Regions from separate parts of the Homo sapiens genome. Here regions 1, 3 and 4 are each linked to region 2. The links are contacts of gene promoters, found by promoter capture Hi-C in blood cells and fetal thymus (Javierre and others, 2016). All regions are on one chromosome and are shown on one strand. The core of a region is centred on a gene start or on the middle of the fragment in contact, and the rest is flanking DNA. Distances in the headings are between cores, read along the strand shown.

Region 1 (6,599 bases), core at 3,493-5,992, 3.7 Mb after region 2:
GCTGCTGGATTCGGTTTGCCAGTATTTTATTGAGGATTTTTGCATCGATGTTCATCAGGGATATTGGTCTAAAATTCTCTTTTTTTGCTGTGTCTCTGCCAGGCTTTGGTAGCAGGATGATGCTGGCCTCATAAAATGAGTTAGGGAAGATTCCCTCTTTTTCTATTGATTGGAATAGTTTCAGAAGGAATGGTACCAGCTCCTCCTTGTACCTCTGGTAGAATTCAGCTGTGAATCCATCTGGTCCTGGACTTTTTTTGGTTGGTAAGCTATTAATTATTGCCTCAATTTCAGAGGCTGTTATTGGTCTATTCAGAGATTCAACTTCTTCAAAAGACACATGAAAAAATGCTCATCATCACTGGCCATCAGAGAAATGCAAATCAAAACCACAATGAGATACCATCTCACACCAGTTAGAATGGCGATCATTAAAAAGTCAGGAAACAACAGGTGCTGGAGAGGATGTGGAGAAATAGGAACACTTACACTGTTGGCGGGACTGTAAACTAGTTCAACCATTGTGAAAGTCAGTGTGGCGATTCCTCAGGGATCTAGAACTAGAAATACCATTTGACCCAGCCATCCCATTACTGGGTCTATACCTAAAGGATTATAAATCATGCTGCTATAAAGACATATGCACATGTATGTTTATTGCAGCACTATTCACAATAGCAAAGACTTGGAGCCAACCCAAATGTCCATCAGTGATAGACTGGATTAAGAAAATGTGGCACATATACACTATGGAATACTATGCAGCCATAGAAAAGGATGAGTTCATGTCCTTTGTAGGGACATGGATGAAGCTGGAAACCATCATTCTCAGCAAACTAACACAAAGACAAAAAACCAAACACCGCATGTTCTCACTCATAGGTGGGAATTGAACAATGAGAACACATGGACACAGGAAGGGGAACATCACACACCGGGGCCTGTTGTGGGGTGGGGGGTGGGGGGAGGGATAGCATTAGGAGATATACCTAATGTTAAATGACAAGTTAATGGGTGCAGCACACCAACATGGCACATGTATACAAATGTAACAAACCTGCACGTTGTGCACATGTACCCTAAAACTTAAAGTATAGTAACAAATAAAAAATAAAAATTTAAAATTAATTAATTAGTTATACTCCCTTCTGTTCCTTTGCTCCATCATGATTTTTATTCTTGACTAAAAACTTGAATGCTAAGCTCACACTACAGTAAAAAAAAAAACTGAGTGCTCAATCTTTATTTATTGGTGTGCCTTGAAATTCTCTACCAACAAAAGTAATCACAAATGATTGAGCTCACAGTATGTTTCATGAAATGTGGAAAATATGAAGTTGTTATTAATTGTAGGAAGCATACATTATTTTCTAACATTTTGTATGCATTTCATATATACACCGAAAAAAAGATTCATACATGTCGAGGAGATTGATGTGATCATGTAGAGAGGTGCTTCCAAGGCAAGACTAAAGAGAGACTGCATAGAACAAAGTGTATCTAATTAATGATGAAAGCACTAGCATGTGGCCACAAGAAATGAGCAGATGCATTATTCAAACCCAAGTGTTTTGTAGTATGGATGGTATTTTGTCCCACTTTTCCAGTGAGTCACTACAAAATTACTATCATAGAACATCTCTTTGCCTTCAAGTTATCTATCACATTTGAATTGGTAATTCCATGCCTCCATTTCTGTTTAAATAACAGTACATTTATCAACAGAATATTTCTAATAACATTCATATTCTAGCATCCTTTTCTAAAAATCATCAGTATAATCAGCTACCTTGTGGATGGAGTTAATCATAACTCTCTCTAATTCAACCAACCACTTCTCCACTTGACCTCTGGCTTTGGCTGTTGAAATAATCTCTATGAGTTCTACAACCTCTCCTTCGCTGCTCTTCATGTGAGTAATGTCTAAAGTTTCCGTAAATTCTACCTTTGCGATTCCTTCAAAACATTTCTTCAAGTGAGGTTGCACCCTGTCAGGAAAAACATTTTTAAGATAATTAACCAAGTTAAAACAATTCTTTACACTCCAGAGTTCTTCGTTTAAAGTTCATAAATGCTAGGTGCTGCTGGGAATGAAATGCTGTGCAAAAACCGGAAACCCCCAAAACAAACAAACAAAAAACACAAGCTCTGCCTACATGCATTATATAGTCCATTGAGATGTCAGTATTAACTGAATAATCACAAAACATCTGTAAAATTACAATTATAGTAAGAGCTACAGAGACAACCACGAGGCTTTGTCTTCAATACAATGAATTAAAAGATGCTAAAGGTAACATAAGGAGAAAACCAATCTTGACTAACAGATAAATACATGAATCTGAAGAATCTTCAAATGCACAAAAGTAGCCATTTCAACTGGGTTCTTCAGAGACTGCTTGAAAATTGTGGACTATGTTTAGTAACTTAGGTACTTTACAGTTTACTAAATCAACTGCGTTGACAGTATCCAACTATTAGTCTATTCAATGTAATACAGATGGGACTGACACAACTCATTTTTGGCACACTACCAATAACCCGTTGCATTCATCTTTCAAATGGACAAAAAGAAGCAAAGTATAAAAACTCAGATAGAAATCTGAGCCTAAATTTACCTTTTGTTTAGATTACATATCCCCTACTTTGAAGGCACAAGTTAACAAAATTAACACATTTGTTTAACAAGTATCTATTCACTGTTTATATCAGATGCTCTTCTAAAGATTGGGGAATCAGCAGTGGGAAAAAAACAGTCAAAAAATCTCTACCATGGTGGAGCTTATATTCCGCTAGAGGAAGACATGCCATTAACAAATAAGTAAATTACAGAGTATGCCAGATGATAACAACTATGCAGAAGGAAAATGAGGCAAGGAAAATAAGTCCAGGAAAGAGGGCAAGTTGAGCATGGAGGGAGCTGCCTCTTTAAATATGGTGGTCAGGGAGGGCCTCCCTGAATGACAGATGTTTAACCAGATTTCCACTAAGACTTATAGGAGGTAAAGGAAGAAGTATGATGAACATTTGGGTAAGGAGCATCCCAGGCAAGAGAACAGTACACTGAGAAAGGAGGCTGCCCCTTTTACCGGGGAATTGCAAAAAGGTTGGTGGGCTGCATGCAGAGTGAGCAAGAAGACTAGTAGGAGATGAATAGGAAGGATAACAGGGGAAGGATAATCTGTGTGGGGCATTGCAAACCATCATGAGAGCAGTGGCTTTTATTCTGAATGTGCTGTGAAAGAGCTGTGTTCTGAAAAATCTGTAAGATGTGATAAGTTAAGAAATCTGGCCAGGCACGGTGGCTCACGCCTGTAATCCCAGCACTTTGGGAGGCCGAGGCAGGTGGATCACTTGAGATCAGGAGTTCAAGACCAGCCTGGCCAACATGGTGAAACCCTGTCCCTACTAAAAATACCAAAATTAGCTGGGCATGGTGGCGCACGCCTGTAATCCCAGCTACTCGGGAAGCTGAGGCAGAAGAATCACTTGAACCTGGGAGGCGGAGGTTGCAGTGAGCCAAGGTCGCGCCATTGCACTCCAGCCTGGGAAACAAGAGTGAAACTCCATCTCAAAAACAAAAAAACAAACAAAAAAAGAAAACGATTCCACGGTTCATTCAGTGATACTAGTTACATTTTTAATAATTATCCAAAGTTGATTATATAATACTTGGAACATTCTTGTAGAAAAAATATTATATAAACATGATTATATATATTTATGTTCTACTTTGTTCTAAAAATTAAGTTTAAGCAGATAAATTTAGTCATGTATTCTACATGTAAATTACTTACCTAGTGGGATCTTTAGTCTCAGATAGTATCTCAAGAAGTTCATCATTGGACAAAAAAAAGAATCTGGGGAAAAAGAGGCGTTTCTTTTCCAAATATTCATTAAGTCCTTTAAGAATGAGCTCCAAAAGTTCATTAGATTTTTTCAGCCTTTCCAGCATTCTGTCAATGGTTACAACTGTCAGAACATGTTTATCCTAAAAATAAAAATAAAAAACACTCAATTCAAAAATATTAGATACTAACTCTATTTATATTCATATTATATTTGAGATTATATGTTTGTAATCAAACAAAGGTTATGTAAATTTTAAGGGGAGTATTTGTTTTTTAAAAGTAGTCTTGCATATTCTAGGTCTACTTGGCCTCTCTGATTCTGTAAAAGTCACATTGATTTAATCCTCAGCCCTGTTCATAACGATTCTCATTCTAAGTTGAGAAGTGTAAGAAACAGAAAATGAGAGAGAGAGAACACTGCCTGAACTCACAAGAAGGACAGTGGAAACAAACTGGTATGAGATATTTTCTTTTGTATTTTATTCTTTGAGGAAAAGAATTCTAAACAATAAGTCATCATTATAATTATTATTTTGAATTTTATTGTTATGAATAATAATAACATAACAGAATCCCTGTTTTATAACTACAGAGAAAAAAGTAAGGGTTGAGGAAATGAGGAAGAAAGCTTTCTAAGAAGATCTTACATTGTAAACAATGACCCTTGAAACTACTTTATAACACTTCTTGCTGAAGGACTGAAGTTCAAGGTGTGCTCTTCCTGAACTCTCTAGAGACAGACTGTTCCACCTTTAAGGCATGGTGAACATTCTCACTTGAAAGTGTCACTGTGAGCTGTTTGCTTTAAAGTGATTCAAACACAATCAAATATTTTTAAAAGAGCTTTCTTTTATCCTGTGTATTCAAAATAAGAATTATAACCAAAAGCTGATCTTAAAGAACTCATATTTTTTAAAAAAAGTAAATAGAGTTTATTGATTTCTCAAAATATCTATACAGTAACCACCAAGTTTATGAAAATCTTTAGAAATACATATAAAAATACAGCCTAGATATAGTTGAAATAGAATTCTTTTTACTTTTTTTTCTTTAACACATGGTTGATGTCATCTGGGTCTATTCTTGGTCTTATAATTCCAAAGTCAGTGTTCACCACTGACATCATTGACAATGTAAGGAAAGTTCTTTACTTAATAAGCTTGAAGGTGTTGAAAAAACAAAAAAGGTGCTAACACAACAGAGATTTCAATCGCCAAGTAGCACACCTCATGAAAATACACCAGACATTTATTAATGTAACAGGGCATTTTAGGAAATTTATATGAAATTAAATCAAGAGAATATTGTTAAAAACTAAATACTAAATTTCAAGATTAACTAATTAGATATTTTTGGTATTTAGCCATGACTGAGAGATAACCAAAAATGTAACCAGTAAATTTTTTCCTATAGGAATTTTATTCAATTGCAGGAGTCTCTAAAGTATGTTTTTGTGAACATACTTTGAATGTGTCTGAAAAGGAAAGATACAATTTTTGCTTTTTTTGGATTACAACAATGCAATTTGGAAACAGCAATTTAATCAAAGAAAATAATTATCATTACTTGTTTCCTCAATAAAACATGAATATATAAATCATATAATATAATTAGATCAATTTATCTTTAAAGGTGCATAATTTTTAAAAGGAATTTTATTATGCTTCTTGTTTTATGTTTCAAATAGACATTCACACACACACACACACACACACACACACACACACACAAACACACACAGCATAACAGACTCAGGCCATCATGTTCGCCTAAATCCAAATATCAAAATAATGTTCTTAGAGTGCCACCTTCTGGAAAAGTATGCCTGTATTTGTTTGGGGAAAAAAGCTGAATTGTGGCTAATAAATGTAAAAAACTCCTTTCACACATGAACAGTATTTGTTATTCTCAACCAAAAAAATTATTGCAATGTTTCCATTCTTAATCTAAGATTTGAAAGCTAAAAACTCAGTTATTTAAACCAGTATATTCCATTTGCTAAATATTATAATTGCCAAAATAACAAACAAACAACAACAAACCATGGAAAGAGCATTCAGGTAAACTTTTTTTATTATTGAATTTCCAGGGTCAAACCTATTTAACCAGATTAGCTTAATAACTCTGAACCAAATATGCTACTTTTAAATGAACACAGGCAATAATCTATGTATCTTTGTATATGGATTTAAGATTTTAAAATAAAAGTAATCATCTTATGACTGGCAACTCAACTACCTTTACTCTCTCCCAGTGAGAAGACAAACATAATAAAGACTGTATCAGATAAAGAAAGGGGCCCAAGTTGAACAGACTTGGTGTCTGTCCACACTCTATTCCCCACTACCTGTGCGACCTTAGATCATCTGCTTAATCTGAGTCCCTTTTTTATTATCTTGAAAATGGGGATAAAAGCCCTCTCTCAAAATCGGTATGAGGACTAAATTAGATAATGTATTTGAAGTGACTAATATGGTGTCTAAAACACACAGACACTTGAAGCGACCCTTTTACTCCCCCTTTCCTTCTCCTCACCCCAAAATTGTCTGTTAGAAAGAGTGCAGGTGGGGAAGGATTGACTCTGGGGAAAGGGGAAAATGAAGCATTTACATCACTCCATGTTTTATGGAGTTAAAATGAACATTTTATAATCTTCCATCCTTCAAGAAAGGTATTTATCATAGTAAAATAACACTGACTTTAAATTCCTCTAAGAATCGCCATCAAATCCTGGTACAGAGTCACCAT
Region 2 (6,896 bases), core at 271-2,770:
TTAGGAAGCTTCAGCAGAGCGAAGCCTGCCAAGCGTTCGCCGTCAGAATCTGAAGGAACCCGAGCGAGCAAGAAGAGTGCCTGACCCACTCCACAGAAGCCTGTCCAGAAATGGAGGAGTCAGCGCCCACTGAAGTCGGTTCCGCCCTCGGCTCGCCTACATGGAGCCTGACCAGCCTCAGTCATGCCCACTCCGGCCTGGGAGACCCGCAAAGTGTTCTTTTTCTCAACTCCCCTGTACTACCTTGAAGCTTAGGGAAGCAAAGAGAGGGGCATATCTGGACTGCAAAACCAATGTCTTTTGCCGCCTAGGAGAGAAGGGAATGAGAGAGAGAGAGAGATAGATAGATAGAGAGAGAGAGAGAGAGAGAGAGAGAGAGAGAGAGAGAGAGAGAGAAATTCTATTGAAACCCAGCTCCTCTAGAATCTGTGTGACCTGGTCTTCAACGGGAGACCAGTGCGACCTCATGGCACCTTTGCCAGGAATCAGCGATTCCCCTGCAGTCACCATTTGATTTATTGCTTTCTCGCTCATTCTTTCTCATAAAGTTATTTCTTCCTCATCCTAGTAAGACTTTTTTCTTTAATGATGACAAAGCTTCTGTTTCAGTGTTTCCCCTAGGATTGGTGCTCTTTCAAAACAGTGAACCCAGAAAACCATCCCGTTTAATATTTCTCAAAATCCTCGCAGCTCCAATGTAAGCGCAAGCATGCAAAGGTTTCCTGCTACACCTGCACTTTCTGCCCATCCCAGAACCACCCCTCACCCCCGGGCCTGCAACAGTTCCCCTTGTTTCTCTGGATAGAGGTGGGTGGTATTAGGGGTCTAGGGCAGTAGGAGGTGAGGGGCTGAGGAGGCGCGCTAGGGTAGGCTGGTCTGTGCTGGATACGCGTGTTCTTCTGCGGAGTTAAAGGGTCGGGGACGGGGGTTCTGGACTTACCAGAGCAATTCCAGCCGGTGGGCGTTTGGCAGTCACTTAAGGAGGTAGGGAAAGCAGCGAGCTTCACCGGGCGGGCTACGATGAGTAGCATGACGGGCAGCAGCAGCAGCCAGCAAAAGCCCTCGCAAAGTGTCCAGCTGCTGCACTGCCGCGGGGACTCCCACAGCACCATGACTAGTTCGTGCAACTCTGCAGCAGCAAACGGCTTCCGAGGAACACAGGATCGCGGGGGCCGGGCAGCGGGCTACTGAGCATCCCGCGGACGGCGGCAGCAGAGGCGGCGGCGGTGGCAGTGGCACCCGGCGGGGAAGCAGCAGCCAAACCCGCGCATGATCTCGAGAGTTTCAGCAACATCCAGGGACTGGGCTCAGCCCCGGAGCGAGAGGGTCGTCCGCTGAGAAGCTGCGCCGGAGACGCGGGAAGCTGCTGCCATAAGGAGGGAGCTCTGGGAAGCCGGAGGACAGGAGGAGACGGGAGTCCAGGGGCAGACGAGTGGAGCCCGAGGAGGCAGGGTGGAGGGAGAGTCAAGGCGCCCCGCAGCCCGGCAGCCGCCTCTCGAGCTCTGCCGCCCGCATCCCTCTGGCGTTTGGGAAGCAGCAGGTCCTCAGCCCGCCCGGGGTCACGTGGGAAGAGGCAGTCGGGCTCTGATTGGTGGAGCAGGATGCAGGTCCCGGGAGGGAGGGGTCGACGAGGAGGTGCAAGGATGCAAGGAGGAGGCGGCCGCGGAAGCCACAGATGGGCTCGCTCGCCAGGCGCTGGCCCGAGTGGGGCTAGGCGGGGATGGCTCAAATGAGAAGCTCGGGCTTCAGGGTGGGCTACCCGCACACTCATATACCATTCGCCTCACTCTCCGCTCCAGGACGCCCCCTACCGAAGGCGGGGTCCGGACTAGCGCCCCTCTTCCGCGCGTGACCCCGGGCCGCGAGTGCGGGCCGCGGCTGGGTGGCGTCTCTCCGAGCTGGAGATGGTGGGGGCGGAGGTGTCAGAGGAGCAGCAGCAGCAGGGCAGAGAGGGGCGAGTCGGCGCGGGAGAGGGCGTCCTGCTGGCGACCGGCGCTCCAGCGTGCGGGAGCGCGCCGCCTAGGCTGTAGGGGGATGCAGGCTGGGAATGTCGCGGCGGAGAGGCCAGGGACGTTTCTCTAGGGATTTACAGGAAAGAGGGTGAGAGGCGATGGTGTTAGAACCGCTCTTGCCGACCTGGAAGCAACAGCAGCATCTCCCACAAGAGCGTGCAACCCCAAGGCTGCTCGCCGAGGCAGCTCAGCCATCCCGGCAGGCGCTCTCCTTCCTTCTCTCTTCTCCCCTCTCTCCTCCCAGGCCCCCCGCAGCTCCGACCCAGCCCAAGCGTTCGCAGGTTTGAATCCCTCTCCTCATCACCCGCTCCTCTCCAGCCCGTAGCCTATTAGTGTGTCCACCTGGGAGGTGCGGTCAGATGTGTTTGGAAGGTCAGATTGGTCGGGACAAGTGGTCTGAGAGAAAGAGAAAGGCTCCTCTGCATACGCCGCGGGTGGGTTGCCGGGAGCATCGGCCGGGCAGCGGCGTCCGGGAAGGGGAGAGCGGGCTCCATTTGTTGGCCCAGGCAGTGACCCTGCGTTCCTTACTCGGGTCTTTGCCGGATGGCCGGTGACCTGGGGCGACGAGAGAAGGTCTAACTCGGCAGGAGTCTCTGGCTCTGCGCGTTTCTTTCATTCTCTCCAGCGGGAAGGGCAAACGGCATAGCGGGACCCGCCTTCCGTCTGCTGCATTCTTCAGGCAGTTAGACACACTCTTTAGCCTAATGGAATTTTAGTCGCCAGTAACGGGACCAAGAGCTTTCGGGGACAAGGGTGGAGAGGAACATCTTTCTTCCATGACCGGGGTCACTATTGCAGTCTCAGTGTTTTGGATGCCCCATAGGGAAGAGCTTTCTTTTTGGTGTGTGATTATTCAGTGATTCCTGTTTTTGTTTTTGTTTATCTTCTCTCCGCTCTCCTTCTCTATTCCTCTCTGTTATCCCTCCTCCTTCTTCTCCCCCCGCTTTCAAAAGCCTCCGGATCCTCCCTTTTTCTATTTAAATTCTCCTTTTGTGCCCCTCTTTCTGTGTCCCCTGAATTTAGGAGAGCATTTGATAACATTTAACAGGCAATTAGTGTCCATTCCCAATCACTTAAAAGAGGCATTCATATACTTTGAAAACGGGACTATCTATCCTTTGCAGACACCAGCAGAAAAACAAATTGTACCCGAGTAATCCTTTTAAGTACTTTAACCTCCAACCTCCTCCCACTTCCTTGCTTTTTAACTTCTCCTTTGAGAGATGTGATCGTGCAGCACCTCAGTGCCTCAACGAAATCTTTTTTTTTTTCCTGTGTGAAATCCATCCCTTTATCTTACATCTCCGCCTCCGTCCGAGACTGTCCCTCTCCCCTCCCACCTCCAAAGATTTCTGAATCTCAGTGTCTCTCACTCCTGGCAATTAAGCAGCAGATCCCAGCATTCTAGTCGGTGGCATCTCGCTCCTCACCGACGAAGACTCCATTAAAACAGATCAATTAGACCAGACGTTGGAGGCATCAGAAAATCGGCTTCTAGACAGAGCAGCTAAATTCTTTAAGGAAACAGAATACCCATTAGATAGAGCTGCCAACTAATATTGCAAAACAAGGAATTAGAAATTTCTTTCGCTACAGGCTTTCAGCAGAGAAGGCAACATAAATATAGATCAAGATTTAACAACTCTACAGCAGAGAATGAGAACATGTCATTTTCCATAGCAAGGCTGGTGTGGTAACTAATCAGGCTTATGAAAATAAGTCATGCTTGAAACTAAAGGCAAAGTCCTTAAAAGTGTTTATGCAGTAATTATGATAATGAAACAGGACCTGCTAGGATTTCAGAGTTTGGCTATGTAAGTAGAATTTTAGAGAACCTCTTAGCAGAGGAAAACTGTTTTTGAATTTTCTGCTAAGTAAATTTTTGGCATACTTTCTAATAATATATGCTCTTCCTAAGACGTTTTGCCAAAAGTAAGTTAAAACTCCAAAGGAGTTAATTACTGGTTGTAACTGGTTAACAAATGCGGTTGCTTCCACAGAGGTCCTTTAAATTATTAAACAGTTTGAAGCAAAGCCTTTTCAATGGGAATGCTGCAATTTTGTTGCACTTACTCTGTACTTAGTGTTATAGTGCCACCAAGAAACAAATTCTGAAACTGGCAAGCACCACCAAGTGGCAGAAGAACATCACTCATTGAGCAGAGAATTGTATTACTGAATATGTAAATAAAAATATATACATTATTTAGACTTGTCACTAGGTACCAAAGAAGTAGACAAGACTGCATTAGCAATTGGATTAGTGCTTTAACTTTTCCCCAGCAAGGCAAAATCAGTTTACTTATTAGAATTAAATTTAAGTCTATGAACTGTACTTTGCATTGCGTATCATATGATTGCTAGTAATATGACACAATCATACCATGTATTTGCAAAATTCTTATTTTAAAATACTATACCATATTTACTTTCAATCTTCTTGAGCTAGAACACTTTATTTGTGGCATATACACTCTAGAATTGATGCAGAGGAGCAGAGTCCAGTTGTTAGATTTTTCAGTAGAAATAGTGCAGATATATTTTCTCCAGAAAACTTAAGAACATTTTTTTTTCTCATGGAAAGAACATCATTATAAAGTGTGAGATTACTCACAGCTTAAGTAGGGGGCTTGGGAGTTATTCTCCAACAAGAATAGTTTAAGATAAATAAATGAACCTGGGAAAATAAGATACACTGCCAATCAGAACTCTTATCTCCTTCATGATTTCATACTTTCTGATTGCTTCAATAAAGGTAAGATGTATCCTTTGCTTCTTAGGTGTCAGGCATTGTGCCATGTAGGATAGAACATGTTATTTTTATTTAATCTTTAAAACACCCCTATGAGACAAAGAATATTATCTCATTTTATATAAAAGGAATATGGCTTTGAAAGCATCAGGCAACTTGCCCCAAGAAACAAATCTCGTCAGTGACACTGCTGGGACTCTGTGAAATTCTGCCTGACTTCAGAGCACAAGACATAAGTCACTAATTTCTGCTGTATTGCTGCCTGTTAGCTTCTGAGAGGGGAAACTAACTGGGAACGTATCAGTTCTGTCCATGATACTTCATTTGCCCTTTCTGTGGAGCCGCAGTAAGGCCCAAACTTTAATTCTCAAACTTCGGCAATAAGATCCAGTGATTTCTGAACCTGGTTGATCATATGAATTCCTTGAGAAACTTTGAAACAATAGACAAATTCCAAGTCCCACTATCAGGGATTCAGAAAATCTGGAGTTGGGCCTTGGGATCCACATTTCAATATTCATCCTTGTTGGAGAAGTAAGGTACCACCTATACCTATATGACAAATGAAAGGATACCTCGATTTTTGCTCAGTTTTCACAGAGAGGTTTCTGAGACAGGTTAAAAGCTTTTACTCAGTGTAAAGATGAGCTGTTGTACATGTCTGTCTCTCTGTTTTTATGCATATGTTCACCAAATATGTATTAAGCTTCTAATATGTCTGACACAGTAACTTTGTGACTGTAGACAATTTCCTCATTTGTAAAATGTGAGTAATAACAATACCTGCCTCCTGGGCTTGTTCTAAAGATTAAAATAAAAATGTATGGTTTAATGGTAGTGGATTTGGGGGGATCCCCTATATAAATAAGTGAATGGAGGTATGAATAAATAAATACATAAAGATGTGTGTACTTATATTTATACACATAATTAAAAATAGTTAAAGATGTACAAATTAAAGTTAAATGTATGTGATATTGAAGTATATGTTGATTATTGATAATGAAGTACAGTATAATTTCTAACCCCACACCTTAACATCTCATACTTAATAACTCATATCTTAATTTCTAGCCTACTTAAGATACATAGATATAGATAGAATGTTCTAAATCATTATTGCCTTAGTTTTAATGTATAATATTCATATGAAAAAGTATCTATCAGTGTGTAGTAAATGTATTAGAACATTATTTATAGGTCAAATGATATTGACAATGTTTCAGAGTCGTCATCTTCATTTCTGGATAATTTTTCAAACTGAGAGTAATTAAATTTGCTATTTTTTCACCCTTTTCTACAATGGCAAATAACATATAAACAATGAGCTGTGATTTAAAGAAATAATTTTATAATGTAAAAGCTTCCCTATGCCTTATTGATTCCCATGCCCTTAATTAATTTTGGTAGTTTAAGTTTGTGATTTCAGTGCTGAGGAAAGTTTATTTCATCTTAGAGCAGTGGGGCTCAGTCATGATTTCACATCACAATCACCTGGATAATTAAAGAATACTGATGCAGAGTTCGTATTCAAAGACTTGGAATCCCTAGAAGTGACACAGAAGCATTGGTATATATATATTTTTAAAGTTTTCCTGGAGAAACACATAGCCATGATTGAGAACCACTGTCCTGGGGAAAGTGACTATTTTCTCATTACTCAAATAGCCAAGTTTCAGGAGGTAAAATACTTACATTTTTCTCCATTAAAACTTGTAAAACACATATCTCACCAAAGACTATTAAAACATCTAGCCAAAGCAATATGAACTAGTTAATGTTTGCCACTAGCTTGCCAGTAGTTAAAAAAAAAAAAAGGAAGAACTGTTATTGGAAGAGAGCTAGATTTAATAAGCAGTAGTCATCTCTATACAATCTGGTGTCTTTTTATTTATAAATTCAAGTAGGTTTCCATTGCTATTAATTTAATCATAGCCTTCTTAGGGCTTAGCCTAATGCTTTATTTCAAACTCATTTTGAAATTTATTCTCTGGAGTCAGAAACAGGAACTAGAATCAGCTTGGAATGAAACTACCTTTCATGTCTCTCTTTGGCTACTCATGGCTTCTATTGGGGGAAATTAGAAAAAGACTTAGTAAAGGTAGTTCTTTCCAATTTGTATTATTAACACC
Region 3 (7,045 bases), core at 409-2,908, 3.1 Mb after region 2:
ATTTTGGAAACTTAATTTCCAGTATGGCAATGTTGGGGGATGGAATATGTGGGAAGTAGGCTCTAATAGGAAGCTTTTGGGTCATGAGTGCTGCCCTTCTGGGTGGCTTGATGCCATTCTTGCAGTAGTGAGTGAGTTTTTGCTCTCCGGAGACTGGATTAGTCCCCAGAGACTAATCCACAAGAGTAGGTTTCTATTTTAAAAAAGCCCAGCCTCTTTTTGCATGCACTTGCTTCTCCTTCCACTTTCTGCCATGAGTTTAATTCACATGAGACCCTCACCAGACAGGCTGCCCAGCTTTGGACTTCCCAGGCTCCAGAATCATGAGCCAAATGAACTCCTTTTCTTTCTAAATTGCCCACTCTCGGGCATTCTCTTATGGGAACACAAAATGAACAAAGACAGTTTTGAAGCTTCCAAGGCAATGAGAGAATAAAATCAGTAGTGAGAGAGAGGGCTATCAAGAAATATATGAAGGCCAATGAAGTAAAGATCATCAGGTACATCTTGGGCTGTTGTCAAGGCATTTTTGCCCTATCTGTTGTTCATTTGAAAATGGATATGACCTGATTATCTCTAACAGAAATCTCATTGAAAAATATATTTCTCATTGGCTCTGACACAAGCCTGAAATATACAAAATGCTAACTCCTTTAGGTCAAAATATACACTATTTTTTATTTCAGCCATTATCATTTTGGTTTCCATTTGTTGATTAGATTTGCCAGCAACTTGATAGAGCTGCAAAATATTAGTATAGAGGTGAGGAAAACTTTGATGACAAAAGGAAGATAAAGTCTGGAATGATTTAAAGAACTTCCAGAAATACTGTTGAAGAAAAACAGCAGTATTTGTGGAAGTATGGGAGCTAAGACTTGGCCTCTGAGAAGACTGTACTGAGTACCGAGAAAGAGTACTAAGATAAGAAAAAGGACTAGTTAAAATCAGAACTGGATGGAGGGGCACCAAAGATCAAGTATGCCTAATTCCCCAAATTTCTCTAAGTTTGGCCTTAACCATTAATAGAATAGATGCCAATCAATTCTGATGACTCTCAACTCACTCTTGAAAGCAAAAACAAGAATATATTGAAGGTATAGATGCATTACATGTATTAGAATATGACGTAAGAGACTATAATGATACCCTAAGTTTTTACACTTAAAAATCTGTTTATTGTTTGTTTTAATATTAAAAGCTATTTAAAGGTTTGGGAAAGATGGAATGATAAGATCCAAAAACACAAAATAACCACCAGTGGAACTCTGATTGGTTTGGGTAGACATGGTAGCCACACAAATGACTGATGGCTGTCAATCATCTAGTGAAGACCAGAACATGTGATTTTGTGATCTTTTCCTCAATATCTTCTCTCAACTCTTCCTCAGAAAGCACCAGAACTATCTACCTAAAGGGATTTTCAAGTCAACATATGGGAGTAAATAAGAAACTCTTTATACTCAGCATTTGGGAAGAGATTTAGTTAAGATATAGACAAGAAAGAGGGGGAAAGTGAAGGGTTCTTGGTGATATATATGGAAAAACAAGGACAAAAATTCGTGTGTGAGGCAATGGTTTTTAATTGCTTTCTAATGGCTGGACATTCATCTTATTTGATCTATATTAAAGCCAGGTGGAGAATAAAACCTGCCTACATTAATTCTATCACCTTCCCTAATTCCTAATTGCCATTTAACCATGGGAAGCCATAACTACCAAAAAGGGGGGCAGAGAAAGCAGAAGATATATGGTTTTATTTTTTATGTAATGTGTGCTAAAATATACTACATCAGAAATGAAAAAAAAGAAAACTAAAGCTATTATGTGAAATACTAGACTGAGCAGGGATTGGTTGTAGATAATTTTAATTCATTTATTCAAATACAAATTCTTAAGACCAAAATTGAGCTCTTTTTCTGTAGGAAGCCCTCTCCTGGCTTCCAAAAGAGAGGTACTGTATTGAATGAAGGGACTGGGGGTTAAGTCTCACATAACTGTACAGTCTTAGCATGGGGCTGGTTTTCAAATAAGAGTACTGTGGCAAATTGATTTTCTAGAGCTTCCTACATTCTATTCCCACTAAATAGTGTTTTAGTACAGGACTGCAAGGCTTCATTTGACTTATATAAATAATTTACCAATTCCTACCTACTTGAGAGAAAGCACTCTTCAGTGAATTTAAAGGACTTGATTACTCTTCATCCACTTTCTGAAATTTGAAGGAATGAGGTAAAAATCACTTAACTACCAGCCCTGGATAAGGTATCTAAAATAACCTTCCACACAGTTCTTACTACCTTAAGCAGTATACGAAATAAATTTACGTGTTGAGGAAAAGCAGCATAATTGTTGTTAATTCTGGGATCATCCTGGGAGGAAATCATTATAATACATGCATAACATAGTAGGATATGACCTCTTATGGAAAAATATCATCTAATTTCTTCACTAGAGATCAAAATAAGTAAGTAAGGCTCCTTTTCTCTTCCTTTCTGTGAGTAACTTCTAAATGGAAAAATGGCGATCTATTTTTGTGCTGGTCATGTTTGCTTTCTTTAAATCCTAGAAATAAAATGAGAGATCAATTAAGCCAAGAACCATGTAAAGTAATGAAAAGCTATGAAGTTCTCCCATTTTTCATTGTTTAAAAAAAAGCTATATCAAAACTCTGCCTTCTATCTTTTTTTCTAAAAGACTCAAAACAAATTGTGAAAGAATGTTCATTGGTACTTTATGTACTTGCTCCCTCAAAGGAAACCTCTTAAAAAACTCTTAAAAAAGGAAACCTCTTAAAAAACTCTTAACATACTGTAATTATCTAAATCTTGGGTTCACAGAACTGTTAGGCATTTCTTCTCTCCTCCCCAGCTCAACTACTCTCAACATTGCCTTTATTTCTCTCTTGAAGCTTATGTAAATTGGGGGGTAAACTTTTTCATATTTTTCCAGATGTTTCCTGAAAAAATTCTTTTCCAGAAACCATTTTGAACCTTTCACTTTGTTTTCAAGTGCATTTATCTGTTGTTTATGCACATGTTTTCTTTCACTAAATCACTAATAATCCCATCCTGGGCAGCTCAAAGTTAGCTGCCCTACTCTATTAATCTCTATAAAATTGGCTCCCACATGTGTCCAGTTTTCATGCAGGGTAAAAATAGAAATCTGTACACAGTTTCATCTTCACATCTTCTGCTTCATTTCTTGGTTATCCACCAGACTTTTTATGTTCTATAGCTTGTCTCCTGGAAATATGTTAGAAATATGTCCATATGTGTGATAATCCCTCATATATCCAAAAAACTAAGCCATCTCCCTTATTTTAAACTGCAGAAAAGTTTAAAATAGTGTTTTTCAGACAGTTTGAGTAGAAAATAGAATAAGTTTACCTCTTTTGTATTCACCTTGAAATAACTAGTAATAAATAAATTCAAAATTCTTAAACCTGTTCTTAATGAGTTTTAAACTATAGAGTTTTTGATGTGATGGGGTACCCTATGCCAAAAGTTATTGAATGAAAAAAAATCACCAAAGAAAAGCAAAGTCAAGTACTTTATCTTTGGCAAATATCTCTTCTCTAAGTAAAGAACAGGACCTACAGCTTCTTATTTCAGAAATATTTTGCATATTAGAAAATGGGGGAAACTAATACGAGAGTTTTTTAGGGCAACAGAATTAACCAGGTCACTGAATTGCTTTATTTCACAGAATTCAATGCTGGCAAAGAGGCGTCCCTTTAAAATTCCTCCTATGCCTTTCTTCAATAGTTATCATAGAGAAAGAGAACTGAAGCTTTGAGACTCTAATTTGTTCTACTCTCCCTTTACCTTAAGCATATGAAAGTGGAATTATGTTAAATACATTGTTGGGACCATGAAAGAGATCAATTTTTAACACCCTCCAGAGTTACACTGATCCAGTGAAAATCTTCTAAGTCTTCATACTCTACGTCATGCTTTTACTGCGGCATCATTCTCTATTAATTGGAATTTGGTGTAAGGAACATCTTGGATCCCTTTTATTGTCAAGTAACAAAGGGACATGAGAAGGTGATTCTTCCGAAAGGCCTTTCCACGTCACTGTTCTGAGGAGTAGACTTCTAGGAAGCCCCTGGTACAATGGCAATTTTTAAAAATCTCTTACTTTATGTTTTTCCTTTTATCTTCAAGTTTTTAAAAAACGGTAAGTCCTTAAGTCAGTGCAAAATAGAAAATCTCTATAAAGAAGACTATGCAGTAAACTTTGATTGATTTTGTGATCCACCATTTGCCACTTCTTGTGGTACTAGTAACCTATTTTTGTTCTGAGAAAGCCATCCATAATTAATCCATGCAGCGTGTGTGTGTTATAGAAAAAAAAAAGATTTTTATTTTGTTGGGATATTAATTTGAGTTCAGAATTACCACCTTTGCAGTTAAGTCTGAGTATCTCCAAAACACCTAAAGGAGTTGTTATTCTTATGAAGACACTAAAAGCGATATAAATACTTTTTTATAATTTTTATTGTTAATTTTCGTGGATATGAGATATTAATACTTAATTTAAAAATCTAATTTTTTGACAATAAAGAAACCTGACTATGTATCTACTTTTTCGTTTGCAGTCAAAAGATTATTACAACAATTTTATTAATCTTTCTAAAAAAATCAACTTACATTTGGTTCCTATTTTATTAATTTATTTTATTATTTTCTTTTTTCCACTTTCTTTGGTTATTCTTGATGTCCTTTTTCTAATTTTTTGACATGTCATCTTAGCTCATGGATGTTCATACTTTATTCTTTTTGTTACATTTATTCATGGCTATAAATTTCTCTCTAGCATTTCTTTACCTGAATTCCACATATTTGATAAAGGCTCTACTCCCATGGAGTTTAGGTTATAAATACATATATTTAGTTAAGACTGTCAGCAGCCTCCTTTCCAAACATACAGAAAAGGCCTGCCAAAGAATAAAGTTAATGCATAGAACAAACTAAAGCCAAGAAATCAGAAAAAAAAAAAATCTTGACCCATGATGTCTTTGACTTTCTAATTATATAGGAAAAAAATTACCGTCTTGGTAAACCTTGTTTAATTGGGTTTTTGCAATTTCAAAATGAAAGAATCTTAACAAATCTGACAAAAACAACCAATGGGGAAAGGATTCCCTATTTAATAAATGGTGTTGGGAAAACTGGCTAGCCATAGGCAGAAAACTGAAACTGGGCCCCTTCCTTGTGCTTTATACAAAAATTAACTCAAGATGGATTAAAGACTTAAACATAAGACCTAAAACCATAAAAACCCTAGAAGAAAACGTAGGCAATACCATTCAGAACATAGGCATGGGAAAAGACTTCATGACTAAAACACCAAAAGCAATGGCAACGGAAGCCAAAATTGACAAACGGGGTCCAATTAAACTAAAGAGCTTCTGCACAGCAAAAGAAACAATCATCAGAGTGAATAGGCAACCTACAGAATGGGAGAAAAATTTTGCAATCTATCCATCTGACAAAGGGCTAATATCCAGAATCTACAAGGAACTTAAACAAATTTACAAGAAAAAAACAAACAACCCCATCAAAAAGTGGGCAAAGGATATGAACAGACACTTCTCAAAAGAAGACATTTAAGCAGCCAACAAACACATGAAAAAAAGCTCATCACTGGTCATTACAGAAATGCAAATCAAAACCACAATGAGATACCATCTCATGCCAGTTAGAATGGCAATCTTTAAAAACAACAGATGCTGGAGAGGATGTGGAGAAATAGGAACGCTTTTACACTGTTGGTGGGAGTGTAAATAGTTCAGCCATTGTGGAAGACAGTGTGGCAATTACTCAAGGATCTAGAACCAGAAATACCATTTGACCCAGCAATCTCATTACTGGGTATATACCCAAAGGAAATCAATCATTCTACTATAAAGACACATGCACATGTATGTATATTGCAGCACTATTCACAATAGCAAAGACTTGGAACCAACACAAATGCCCATCAATGATATACTGGATAAAGAAAATATGGCACATATACACCATGGAATACTATGCAGCCATTAAAAAGGATGAATTCATGTCCTTTGCAGGACATGGATGAAGTTGGAAACCATCATTCTCAGCAAACTAAAACAGAAAGAATATTGACTATGTTAATGGTTGATAAAGCCCCCTGCACAAATTATTTCTTGTTCCATAGCATTTGAGAACCAGGTAGCATTTGAGAACCAGGATATACAACCAGTTTCCTGAGGATACTGTTTCTATTGCCAGCCTCCCTGAGCCATGAAGGGTCATGAGCTGTCACTTCTGAAAATCAACTAATTTCACACTCTTCTCTAAAAGTCTTGTTTTTGTGTTTGGTTGGTTTTTCCCAAGCCATTTTTCTGTAATTTAAGTGAGCTTCTTCTATGGATATAAGAAAACTTGACTCTAGGTCAAGATTTCACTATAAAATAATTGTGGTTATATATGCATAGTTACCTAGAACATAAATTACACACTTTCCCTCTAATTTCCATTCAATGATCATAATGACTTCATAAAAATAATTTCAAGCTGATCATAAACTATTTTCTACCATTCAAATAGCATTTTACTTTAAAGAATGATGCACAAACAGTGTTTTAGTCAGGTTCCCAACAGGAAACAGATGGAACACTGAAGATAATTCACAGAGAGTTATCTTAACACTCAAGATAATTACATAGTGACTATTTATAAAGGTATCAACAGAGTGAGGAGAGCCATAAAAGATGATTCTGTAACCAAGGTTTATTAACATCAAAGGGACAAAAAGAGGAAGCAGTTACTACAAAAGAGGAGAGAATTATGTAGGAGAGGCTACTTTGAAAGAAGCAGTTATATTCAGTTAGAGTAATAAAAACAGCCCTGGGCACCCTTACACAGAGGAAGCCAGGGAAGTAAATTCCTTGACCTCATTCACCTACTTCTGACAGCTTGCCATGACTTCTTATTGGTCAAACCCAACCAGAAAGGGCAATAAAGTCTGTTTCCATAATTTGTATAGCCAGTCTGGGGAAACAAATGGGGTGGGT
Region 4 (6,461 bases), core at 3,397-5,896, 3.9 Mb after region 2:
AGACAATAAATTTTATTACATTAAAATCTAACTTGTACAGGGCTTTATCAACTGAAAATGTCTATTAACTGCCTCTTCCACAAGACAATGACACTTTATAGTCAAAATAATGAAAAAAGATTCCAAAATCTAAGAAATATTTTGTAGTACAGCATTTTTCTGCTGGAAGACCCATCTCCTTGAAGATCATCAAATCAACTCAGCTCATTTTCAAACTCAGAAACTGAGGCTCAAGAGGTAAGTGACTCCCCAAAGGGCACAGAGCCATTAGAGGCAAAGCTTTACCCCAAGCCCTTTTTTATTTACTCCAACGCTAATACTCCTTTTGCTAACCAATCTTGGCAAGTCGTTCATTCAGAATACTGAAATATTCTACATATACAGGTAATTATAGCTTATGGTTACTTTACTAAGATAGTTATTTGTCCTAATATGCACACCTCATAGAATTTCTCCATCAGAAAAGAATCAAATGGAGCAGGAATTTGCTTACTTATTTTCAAGTTAGAAAACTAATAAACATTTTTTGAAGCACAAAAATTCAATGAGAATATATTTGGATAAGTTACCATAGACAGCTGTGGTAAAGCTCTTGCTGGTGCCTTGAACTTTTCTTTGCTGGCTAATTTCTCCTGTGTGAAAAATATGAAGGGGAAAAAAGTGTTTACTCTGTTAGTGCTAAAATTGATTCACTGAACCAAATTTTACAGAAAGACTATTTAAAAAGTACATATTATCCAACATATTCAAAGATAAACTTTACTGCTTTTTAAATTCTCAGGTTTGTCTCAGAATTGTTTTCTTTAGAGCAAGAAAATAAAGGAAAATTATATCCAGCAATACTTATCAGAAAGCTTTAAAAAGTATGCAAAACCGGCCAGGCGCGGTGGCTGTAATCCCAGCACTCTGGGAGGCTGAGGTGGGCGGATCACAAGGTCAGGAGATCGAGACCATCCTGGCTAACATGGTGAAACCCCGTCTCTACTAAAAATACAAAAAATTAGCCGGGCGTGGTGGTGGGTGCCTGTAGTCCCAGCTACTTGGGAGACTGAGGCAGGAGAATGGCGTGAACCCAGGAGGCGGAGGTTGCAGTGAGCAGAGATCGCACCACTGCACTCCAGCCTGGGCGACAGAGCAACACTCTGTCTCAAGAAAAAAAAATAAATAAAAAATAACAAGTTCTACCTAGGAACTACTGACACTCACCAATCAAAACTCGCCAGCTCTTGTAAGACACTGCCAGTGCCAATAAACTTTCTTTCAGAACAACTTGTATAACCTCCTCTTTCCCCAATTAAACCCTAATCATTTAACTTGTTCTCCAGACATACTGGAGGCCACCCTAGTCTGTACGTAAGTCCTGGATTGCAATCTCACTTCCTGTATATTATTCTCAAATAAAACCTTTTTACTTGTATGCTTATATTGCAAGTTGACAGCAACTTTCCACAAGTCTCACTTATACCACAGACAGAGACTTCCTTTCAAACTTTCAGGATCCCAGTAGGTGGTTTTCACCTCCCAGCCCAGACCTGCAGCTCTTCAGCAAATGTCTTTGTCATCCAGTGGGCCACAGCCACATCTCCCATGAGGTCTGAATCTAAGGCTTTGGGGAAGGGACGGCTCTTCCAAGTTTGTTCCTTGAGCACTCTCTCTCAGACCTAGAGGGAGTGGCTGCTCCTTATATCTGCTATTCCTCTATTCTTCAGGGCTGTGCTGTCCAAAACAGTATGCACTAGCCCCCTGTAACTACCAAACACTTGAAATGCGGCTCCTCTGAAGTGAGATGTGTTTAAGTTTAAAATATGTACTAGATGTTGAAGACTTAGTACAAAACACAAAGAATGTAAATTATCAATGTTTATATATTGATTAGAGCATATTTTATGTTGATTACCATATGTGTTCCACATTGTTCTAAGAAGCTTACATGAATTAACACCTTTAATATTCTATACGCTGTGGGGTAAATACTGTTGTACCACTTTTATGCCTATTACGTAGATAAGAAATCATGTAGTCTCTGCCTTCACAAAGCACACAGTCCAGTTAATATTAAAGACCATGTGCTTCCATCTAGGACAGGATGTGGAGCAGAGTATTCTAAGAACGTTTCAAAAAGAAAAAGGGTGGAGCTAAGCCTTAAAGCATACCTGGATCTCCACAGAGAAGGACAGCAAAGAGCTTACTGAAGTCAGAGGGCGCATCAAGAATTGGAGTCTAAATGTCAATGGCAGGCTTTGAGGCTATGTTGGAGTGGATGGGGAAGGTAATCCATTCCCTAACTCAACAATGGTTCACCAGCTCCTACCATGTGCTGGGCTCATAGACTAAGTCATAGGACTACAGACTAAGATACCTAGTCCATAGTCGTGGAAAGGACTAAGTCCCTCTGCTTATGGAGTACACATTCTAGAGGAGGTACAGTTATTTCAGAACAGATCTATAACATAATCTCAGAAACTAGTATGTACAATGAAGAATAATAAAACAGTGTGAAGGAACAGAGAGGGAAGGAGTGGAAAAGTGCTAGGTAGATGGAGTAGTAAGACCCTCTCTGCAGAGGTTATGTTTGAATAGGAACCTGAATAAAAGGTAGGGGAAGAACAAACTAGAGCTAGACAAGTGGGTGCTGTTATATTAAGGAGGACATGGGTTTCAGGGCTTGACTGGCCAGGCTGGCAATAGAGAGCCACTGCAGTCTCCTTTTAGGGTGAACTTTAGTCTCAGTTTGCGGAAGACAGTCTCAGTTTACACCTTTAGTCTCAGTTTGCCCAAGCATAACTAGTAGAACTTTCGCTCTCAATGGCATCTTAGTTTAGATGATAAATTATAATGCTATCCTGTTTATGATGTAGAGACATACAAAAGCTATTTCATAAATGGTTCTGATGATACAAACAGGATACATGAGAAGCAGGGGACTAGAGTCAGCAGTGAGGCTAGTTTAGCAGGTTTTTAAGAATAATATAGGCAACAGGAGACATGGGCCTGGATTTACAGAAAATGCTGGTAACAAAAGGTCACCTCTACCTCTCAAAGGCACTGCTCTGATCATACTGCTCCCCTGTTCAGAAACATTTTAAAGCCCCCTGTTGAAGTAGGCACAACTCTTCTTGGTGTCCAAAGCCTTCCTCAACATACTCCAAACTATTTTCCAGCTTCTCTTAGTTACTTTGTAGCCATATGATTTGTGTGGCTAGTGAAATGTGAGCACAACAGGAAACACAGTTAAGTGCTAGAGGGACAGGCAGTTAAGAGCTAGAGGGACAGGGAGTTAAGAGCTGGTGTGCTTCCTCCATCACTATCTCACACCCATGAAGCCCATGTGTTCCCACTGGCATAGCTATAAGATGCAGCGCTACCTGACCCTCGTCAGACTTCATGTGAGCAAGGCCTAATCTTTGTTGGGTTAAGTCTCTGAGATTTCGACTTCCATTTGTTTTGTCAGATAGTATTAATTACCCTGTCAGAGCCACCAATAGGTTCCAAAATATCTCCCTGTTAAAATCTAGCCCTTTAAGACCAAAATCGAAAAAGTTTACATTTCATTTCTTAACTCCAACTGTAAGTAATCTCCTTTGAAGATGCATAGCATTCTTTATTGTTTAAATTATTTTTGGCTGGGTGTGATGGCTCATGCCTGTAATCCTAGCACTTTGGGAGGCAAAGGGGAGCGGAGTGCTTGAGCTCAGGAGTTCAAGACCAGCCTGGGCAACATGGTGAAACTCCATCTCTACCAAAACAGATACACAAAAATAACCTGGGTATGGTGGTGCCTGTGGTCCCGGTTACTCAGGAGGCTGAGGAGGGAGGATTGCTTGAGCACAGGAGGTGGAGGTTGCCATGAGCCAAGACTGCACTACTGCACTCCAGCCTGGGCAACAGAGAGACACCTGTCTTTAAATAAATAAAATATATTCTGATATATGAATTATGTGTACACCTACCTATACTGTTCTCCTAACCCCTCACCCCACCCCACCTCCACCTACTAAATCAGTCTTATAGAGATGAGTGACATGGTTTGGCTGTGTCCCAACCCAAATCTCATCTTGAATTATAGTTCCCATAATCCCTATGTGTCATGGGAGGGACCTGGGTGGGAGGTAATTGAATCATGGGAGCAGTTTCCCCCATGCTAGTCTTGTGATAGTGAGTTCTCACAAAATCTGATGGTTTTATAAGGGGCTTCCCCTTCACTTGGCTCTCATTCTTCTCCCTCTTGTCTCCTGCCACCATGTGAAGAAGAAAGTTGCTTCCCTTTCCACGATGTTTGTAAGTTTCCTGAGGCCTCCCCAGCCATGTGGAACTGTGAGTCAACTAAAGCTCTTCTCTTCACAAATTACCCAGTTTCGGGTATTTCTTCATAGCAGCATGAGAAGGAACTAATACAATGGGAAAACTGACTTTAAAGTCATTTTAGCTTTATCTTAGAAAATCATAAAATGGTGAGGCTGGGCACAATGGCTCACAGCTGTAATCCCAGCACTTTTGGAAAGCCAAGGCAGGAGGATCACTAGAGCCCAGGAGTTCAAGACCAGCCTGGGCAACATGGTGAAACCCTGTCTCTACCAAAAATACAAAAATTAGCTAGGCGTGGTGACCCATGCCTGTGGTCCCAGCTACTGGTGAGGCTCACATAAGCCCAGGAGGTAGAGGCTATAGTGAGCCATGATCACACCACTGCACTCCAGCCTGGACAACACAGCAAGACCTCCTTGTCTCAAAAAAAAATTACAAAATGGTTAACCATGCCCTAAAAAATGGATAACTAAAGATAAGAAAAGAAAAGAAAGGAAAAGAAAAGGAAAGAGTGCAATGAGCTTCAGACAGTACTTTCTGAAATACAAGCACCAGATTAGGGGAACGTTTCACACATATACAATGCTGTAACCCAAATGGTTCTGGTTTCTACAATTCCCACTGGGCTACACAATGGGAAGGGAAATATGAGCACAACATTTTCAAGCTAACAGGTGCAATAGGTGTTCTCAGAGTTGAAGCCTTCCCTTTGGGGAGAATGAGGGTGTGGCAAAGGCCTGAGAAGAATGCAGTTATAGATGACAGAGAGGAATGGCTCTGGGATGTCTAGTCCAAGTGCCCTGGAATTTTCACATCAGGGACAGAGGTAATTCGAATGACATCTATTGTCCTGGAGTCACTACAAATATCCAAAACACCCTATGTAACCCAAGCCTCCTATACAACAACCCCATCACTGCCACCACCCTGACTTTTTAAGATCTCTGCATCATCCATGCTGTTGCTGAGCTATTTCTCCAAGTCTCACCATCACTCTAGGTGAAGAAGGGTGGTGAGGACCTTAATGTTTTCTTCTTACATTGCAGTGCGGAATATGTATCTTATAGAATATTTTACAAATAGTGCTTCTCTAGCTAACCAAGACAAGCAGCCACACATATGTCAGAAAAATCATCTGGCAAATGATGCCTCACATCCTGCTGGCCTCACCTTGGATTCCAGACATGGCTGCAGTAAACAGTTCTGTGCTAGCTTCTCACATCAAGAAAATATCTTTTGTGGCCGGGCGCAGTGGTTCACGCCTGTAATCCCAGCACTTTGGGAGGCCGAGGCGGGCGGATTACCTGAGGTCAGGGGTTCGAGACCAGCCTGGCCAACATGGTGAAACCACATCTCTACTAAAAATACAAAAATTAGGCAGGCGTGGTGGCATACACCTGTAATCCCAGCTACTCAGGAGGCTGAGACAGGAGAATTGCTTGAGCCCGGGAGGCGGAGGTTGCAGTGAGCCAAGATCATGCCACTGCACTCTGTCTGAAAAAAAAAAAAAAAAGAAAAAAGAAATGTTTTTTCTTTTCTGCAGGGGGAATCCTCTAATGCTACAGTATGGGACTCTAGGAAGAGCCCACTCTGCTCACACACATGAGCAGCCAGAAGAGGATGGGAGTCAACATCCCCAGGAACAATCTTTCACCAATACAGGATGAAAGATGACAGATAAATGCTATTCCTTGACCCTCCTCAGGTGATCAATTCCAGGAAGCATTCTATAAGCTCAGAGGTCATGGCAGGACATACCAGTTGCCTACTGTGCTAATCAACTTGATAGCCCATGGTTGTGTGGCCTTTCCTTCTTCCTACTTTTACTCTCCTCAGTCTCTTATTATTGCGTCTCAAATACACTACCTGCACACAAGTCCTTGTTTCAGATAACTTGTGCACAGGAAAATAGGCTAGGAAAACATGTAAGTCAGTGCTCTTTCATCTTTCCATTTGCTCTTTCATTGTTCAACTCTAATCTTGTTCCATAAAAGATTTAAGACTTGTGGGAGGGATATGAATGAGGTGTGCAGAAAGGGTGAGAATCAGGTCACCAGCTCACAGGGGCTGAGAGCCACCAGTGCCAGTTTCAACTACAGGGTTCACCTCTAGAAGCCCGAAGGTCCGTAATTAAAATCATTCTATGTCTTAATTAC

Evidence for each region. Contacts are between HindIII fragments. The CHiCAGO score rates a contact against its expected background, and 5 or more counts as called.
Region 1: a fragment that was not itself captured here is called in contact with the fragment with the promoter of TMEFF2 in region 2 in 4 of 17 cell types (total CD4 T cells, total CD8 T cells, non-activated CD4 T cells and 1 more); the score reaches 10.1 in total CD4 T cells.
Region 3: a contact is called between a fragment that was not itself captured here and the fragment with the promoter of TMEFF2 in region 2, in 6 of 17 cell types (endothelial precursors, naive CD8 T cells, total CD8 T cells and 3 more). The highest score is 10.3, in endothelial precursors.
Region 4: a contact is called between a fragment that was not itself captured here and the fragment with the promoter of TMEFF2 in region 2, in 1 of 17 cell types (naive CD4 T cells). The highest score is 7.9, in naive CD4 T cells.

The regions. Positions count from the first base shown.
Region 1 is chr2:195,932,802-195,939,400 of GRCh38, forward strand. It overlaps DNAH7 (dynein axonemal heavy chain 7), which reads right to left. Exons shown (of 65, transcript NM_018897.3): 20 at 3,798-3,991; 21 at 1,790-1,988. Among named protein-coding and RNA genes, the nearest start is that of DNAH7, 130 kb to the right of the region's middle. The HindIII fragment of the contact is 531 bases long and covers 4,478-5,008 here.
Region 2 is chr2:192,193,413-192,200,308 of GRCh38, forward strand. TMEFF2 (transmembrane protein with EGF like and two follistatin like domains 2) reads right to left here and starts at 1,521. Exons shown (of 10, transcript NM_016192.4): 1 at 941-1,521. The coding sequence starts at 1,112. RefSeq lists an enhancer at 1,467-2,042. The HindIII fragment of the contact is 4,792 bases long and covers 596-5,387 here.
Region 3 is chr2:195,323,924-195,330,968 of GRCh38, forward strand. The region is part of intron 1 of LOC105376755 (a long non-coding RNA gene); the gene reads right to left. Among named protein-coding and RNA genes, the nearest start is that of LINC01825, 210 kb to the right of the region's middle. The HindIII fragment of the contact is 2,495 bases long and covers 412-2,906 here.
Region 4 is chr2:196,050,618-196,057,078 of GRCh38, forward strand. It overlaps DNAH7 (dynein axonemal heavy chain 7), which reads right to left. Exons shown (of 65, transcript NM_018897.3): 3 at 570-632. Among named protein-coding and RNA genes, the nearest start is that of DNAH7, 15 kb to the right of the region's middle. The HindIII fragment of the contact is 5,446 bases long and covers 1,924-6,461 here.